2 separate regions of the Homo sapiens genome follow, and region 2 is linked to region 1. Evidence: promoter capture Hi-C in 16 types of primary human blood cells and fetal thymus (Javierre and others, 2016). All regions are on one chromosome and are shown on one strand. Each heading gives the region's core, a stretch centred on a gene start or on the middle of the fragment in contact. The rest is flanking DNA. Distances are from core to core; before and after follow the strand shown.

The links. The method cuts DNA at HindIII sites, captures the fragments that hold promoters and counts their contacts. A CHiCAGO score of 5 or more calls a contact.
Region 2: a contact is called between a fragment that was not itself captured here and the fragment with the promoter of NXNL1 in region 1, in 1 of 17 cell types (endothelial precursors). The highest score is 5.4, in endothelial precursors.

The regions. Positions count from the first base shown.
Region 1 is chr19:17,459,620-17,462,319 of GRCh38, reverse strand. NXNL1 (nucleoredoxin like 1) reads left to right here and starts at 1,394. Exons shown (of 2, transcript NM_138454.2): 1 at 1,394-1,776. The coding sequence starts at 1,451. RefSeq lists an enhancer at 988-1,488. The HindIII fragment of the contact is 2,658 bases long and covers 586-2,700 here.
Region 2 is chr19:17,426,456-17,429,155 of GRCh38, reverse strand. No RefSeq gene overlaps it. Among named protein-coding and RNA genes, the nearest start is that of MVB12A, 7.8 kb to the right of the region's middle. The HindIII fragment of the contact is 1,825 bases long and covers 504-2,328 here.

The sequences.
Region 1 (2,700 bases), core at 145-2,644:
CGAGTAGCTGGGATTACAGGCATGTGCCATCACGAGCCGCTAATTTTTGTATTTTCAGTAGAGATGGGGTTTCACCATGTTGGCCAGGCTGGTTTCGAACTCCTGACCTCAGGTGATCCGCCTGCCTCAGCCTCCCAAAGCGCTGGGATTACAGGCATGAGCCACCACACCCGGTCTAATTTTTGCTTTTTTTTTTTTTTTGAGACGGAATCTCACTCTGTCACCCAGGCTGGAGTGCAGTGGCGCGGTCTCGGCTCACTGCAAGCTCCACCTCCCGGGTTCACGCCATTCTCCTGCCTCAGCCTCCCGAGTAGCTGGGACTACAGGTGCCCGCCACCACACCCGGCTAATTTTTTTTGTACTTTTAGTAGAGACGGGGTTTCACTGTGTTAGTCAGGATGGTCTCGATCTCCTGACCTTGTGATCCACCTGCCTCAGCCTCCCAAAGTGCTGGGATTACAGGCGTGAGCCACCACACCTGGCCAATTTTTGCATTTTTAGTAGAGATGGGGTTTCTCCATGTTGGCCAGACTGGTCTCGAACTCCTGACTTCAGGTGATCCACCCACCTTGACCTCCCAAAGCTTTGGGATTACAGGCGTGAGCCACCGTGCCCAGCCTATTTTTTATTTTTAGACACTAGGTCTTGCTCTGTCACCCAGGATGGAGTGCAGTAGTGCAGTCATTGTAGCCTCAACCTCCCAGGCTCAAGTGATCCTTCCATCTCAGCTGAGTAGCTGGGACTACAGGCTCATGACAACACCATGCCCAGCTAAGTTTTTAATTTTTTCATAGAGATGGGGTCTCACACTGTTGCCCAAGCTGCTCTCAAACTCCTGGTCTCAGGTGATCCTCCTGCCTCAGCCTCCCAAAGTGCTGAGATTACAGGCGTGAGTCACTGTCTGCTACATGGTTTTTTGGTTTTTTTTCTTTCTTTCTTTCTTTTTTTTTCTGAGATGGAGTCTCGCTCTGTCGCCCAGGCTGGAGTGCAGTGGCACAATCTCAGCTCACTGCAACCTCCGCCTCCTGGCTTCAAGCGATTCTCCTGCCTCGGCTGCCCAAGTAGCTGGGATTACAGGTGCCCACCACCACGCCTGGCTAATTTTTTTATTTTTTAGTACAGACAGGGTTTCACCATGTTGGCCAGGCTGGTCTCAAACTCCTGACCTCAGATGATCCTCCCACCTCTGCCTCTCAAAGTGCTGGGATCACAGGCGTGAGCCACCGTGCCCATCTGTTACGTGTTTTCTTAATGCGTTTGCGGCTCTCTCCTGAGAAGGGCCACACAGAGAGCCCTGCCCCCCGCCCTTAGAGGCCCCTCAGGTCAAGGTTTAGGCAGATTAGTGAAGTCCTAAGCTGGTTTTCTAAAGATTTCTATTTCTGGGAGAGGAGCCAGTCAGCAGACCGGGGACCACACGCCGCGCTGTCCCCAGCACCCAACCCAGGTTACCATGGCCTCCCTGTTCTCTGGCCGCATCCTGATCCGCAACAATAGCGACCAGGACGAGCTGGATACGGAGGCTGAGGTCAGTCGCAGGCTGGAGAACCGGCTGGTGCTGCTGTTCTTTGGTGCTGGGGCTTGTCCACAGTGCCAGGCCTTCGTGCCCATCCTCAAGGACTTCTTCGTGCGGCTCACAGATGAGTTCTATGTACTGCGGGCGGCTCAGCTGGCCCTGGTGTACGTGTCCCAGGACTCCACGGAGGAGCAGCAGGACCTGTTCCTCAAGGACATGCCAAAGAAATGGCTTTTCCTGCCCTTTGAGGATGATCTGAGGAGGTGAGGAGGGGCAGGGAGGGCTTCCTGGAGGAGGGGGCATGTTCGCTGAAAGTGAAGCATCCATTCTAACTAGAGTGAATGAGCAGCCCCTGTGTGCCAGTCCATATACTGGGAACTAGGGGGTACAGACAGGGGTGCCCACTTCCACATGCTGGCTTCCATGCCACCCCAGGGAGCTTAGAGCCGAGTGAGAGGAACAGATGCAAAAGACAGAATCAACTATGTAATAGCAAGGCCGGGCATGGTGGCTTAACCCTGTAATCCCAGGACTTTGGCAGGCCGAGGTGGGCAGATCACCTGAGGTCGGGAGTTTGAGACAAGCCTGGTCAACATAGTGAAACCCTGTCTCTACTAAAAATACAAAAATTATCCAGGCGTGGTGGTGGGCGCCTGTAATCCCAGCTGCTTGGGAGGCTGAGGCAGGAGAATCGTTTGAAACTGGGAGGCAGATGCTGCAGTGAGGTAAGATCGTGCCACTGCCCTCCAGCCTGGGTGACAGAGGGAGACTCTGTCTAAAAAATCAAAAAACAAATATATAATAGCGAATTGCAGTAGTGCTCAGAGGACAAAGCTAGGCCACAAAGTGGAAATACAATGAGGGAAACCTTGGTGAGGTTCCGGGGTCAGAGGATGCTTCCCCGAAAAAGTGGCTTTAAAGAGAGACCCCTAGCTGGGCACGGTGGCTCATGCCTGTAGTCCTAGCCACCTGGGAGGCTATGGTAAGAGGATAACTGGAGCCTAGAGTTTGAGGCTGCAGTGAGCTATGATCGCACCACTGCACTCCAGCCAGGGCAATACAGGTAGACCCTGTCTCTTAAAAAAGTAAGGCCAGGTACGGTGGCTCACACCTGTAAATCTAGCACTTTGGGAGGCCAAGGTGAGCAGATCACCTGAGGTCAGGAGTTCGAGACTAGCCTGACCAAT
Region 2 (2,700 bases), core at 167-2,666, 33 kb after region 1:
AAAGTGCTGGGATTACGGGCGTGAGCCACCATGCCCGATCATGTGTGTTTTTTTCGTAGAGATGGTGTTTCACTGCTGCCCAGGCTGCCCTTAAACTCCTGAGCTCAACAGATCCTCCCAGCTTGGCCTCCCAAAGTGCTGGGATTACAGGTGTGAGCCACCGCTGCACCCAGTCCCAAATTTTTTTTTTCTTTTTTTTTGAGACAGGGTCTTGCTCTGTCACCCAGCCAGGAGTGCAGTTATGCAATCATAGCTCACTGCAGCCTTCACCTCCCAGACTCAGGCGATCCTCCCACCTCAGCCTCTCGAGTAGCAGGGACTACACAGGCAGGTATCACTATGCCCGGCTAATTTTTAATTTGTACAGACAGGGCCTTGCTGTGTTGCCCAGGCTGGTCTCAAACTCCCGGGGGCTCAAGTGATCCTCTCGCCTCAGCCTCCGATAGTGCTGGCATTACAGGCGTGAGCCACCATGGCTGGCCAACTTTAATTATTTAAAAGCTTGGATGTTTCTTTAGACAACACCGTCCTCACTGTGAGAAAATGACCCTCCCATTAGGCCAGTTTCTGTACCACTACAACTAACAAAGTCTATTGCCGCTAAGAAATAAGCCTTAGCTTTGCTATTTATTTATTCATTTACTTAGAGATAGGGTTTTGCTCTGCACCCAGGCTGTTTTTTTTTTTTTTTTTTTGCAGACAGAGTTTCGCTCTTGTTGCCAAGGCTGGAGTGCAATGGTGCGATCTTGGCTCACCACAACCTCTGCCTCCTGGGTTCAAGCGATTCTCCTGCCTCAGCCTCCTGAATAGCTGGGATTACAGGCATGCGCCACCACGCCCCGCTAATTTTGCATTTTTAGTAGAGACGGGGGTTTCTCCATGTTGGTCAGGCTGGTCTTGAACTCCCGACCTCAGGTGATCCGTCCGCCTCGGCCTCCCAAAGTGCTGGGATTACAGGCGTGAGACACCGTGCCCTGCCTTACTTATTTATTTATTTAGAGACAGGGTCTCACTCTGTCACACAGGCTGGAGTGCAGTGGCGCAATCATAGCAAACTGCAGCCTCGACCTCCTGGCCTCAAGCGATCCTCGTGCCTCAGCCCCCAAAAGTGCTGGGATTACAGATGTGAGACTCCAAGTATGACAGCCTTAGTTCTTCTTTTTCTTTTTGAGATGGAGTTTCACTCTTGTTGCCAAAGCTGGAGTGCAATGGTGCAATCTTGGCTCACTGCAACCTTGACCTCCCGGGTTCAAGCGATTCTCCTGCCTCAGCCTCCCAAGCAGCTAGGATTACAGGCGTGTGCCACCACACGCAGCTAATTTTTATATTTTTAGTAGAAACAGGGTTTCACTACGTTGGCCAGGCTGGTCTCGAACTCCTGACCTCAGGTGATCTGCCTGCCTCGGCCTCCCAAAGTGCTGGGATTACAGGTATCAGCCATCATGCCTGGCCAGCTTTTCTAAACCACAGAGATCTGGGGATGTTTCCAACTGCAGCAGAATGTGGGCCACCACAAGACTACAACAGCCCAGAGGAGAAACAGCAGCATAGCAGCCATCGTACACGTCCATGGGCATGCACTTATGGGAGAAGGAAGGTGTGAGTTTAGGGTGGTGAATTTCTTCTCTTTTTTTTTTTTTTTTTTTTGAAATGGAGTTTCACTCTTGTTGCACAGCCTGGAGTGCAGTGGCACAATCTCAGCTCACTGCAACCTCCACCCACCAGGGTTCAAGCGATTCTGCTGCCTCAGTGTCCCAAGTAGCTGGGATAACAGGCACCTGCCACCAAGCCTGGCTAATTCTGTATTTTTGGTAGAGATGGGGTTTCACTATGTTGGCCAGGCTGGTCTCGAACTCCTGACCTCAGGTGATCCACCCACCTCGGCCTCCCAAAGTGCTGGGATTACAAGCATGAGCCACTGTGCCTGGCCATGTTCTTGTGGTTTTTGTTGGTGATTTTGCCATTGAAATTCCCCCAGACACCGAAATGCTGTCCAGGCTTCCTAAGTACCAAAAGGCTGCAATGGCTGGGCTCGGCGGCTCATGCCTGTAATCCCAGCACATTGGGAGCCGAGGCAGGAGGACTGCCCAAGGCCAGGAGTTCAAGACCAGCCTGGGCAATATAGTGAGACCCCCATCAGTACAAAAAAAATTTTAAATTAGCCCAGTGTAGCCTGTAGTCCCAGCTACTCAGGAGGCTGAGATTGGAGGATCACCTGAGCCCGGGAGGTCAAGGCTGCAGTGAGCTATGATCATGCCAAAAATAAAATACTTAAAAAAAAAAAAGTCTGTGATGCACCTCATGGAGAAAATCCATTATAGAGAAGCTTTATGCAGACGTGAGTTTCGGTGCTGTTGGCTGTGAGTTCAATGTAAATGAATCCACCATAGATATTAAATAAGGTGTTTTTAAACAAATGTACATAAAACAAGGTTGTATGAATTGGTGGATGAAAATGGTGTGGCCTGGGCCGGGCGCAGTGGCTCACACCTGTAATCCTAGCACTTTGGGAGGCCAAGGCGGGGGATCACTTGAGGTCAGGACTTTGAGACCAGCCTGGCCAACAAGGTGAAACGCTGTCTCTACTAAAAATACAAAATACAAATTAGCTGGTTATGGTGGCCCAAGCCTGTAGTCCCAGCTACTCAGCAGCAAGGGGTGCCGGCTGAGGCAGGAGAATCACTTGAATCTGGGAGGCAG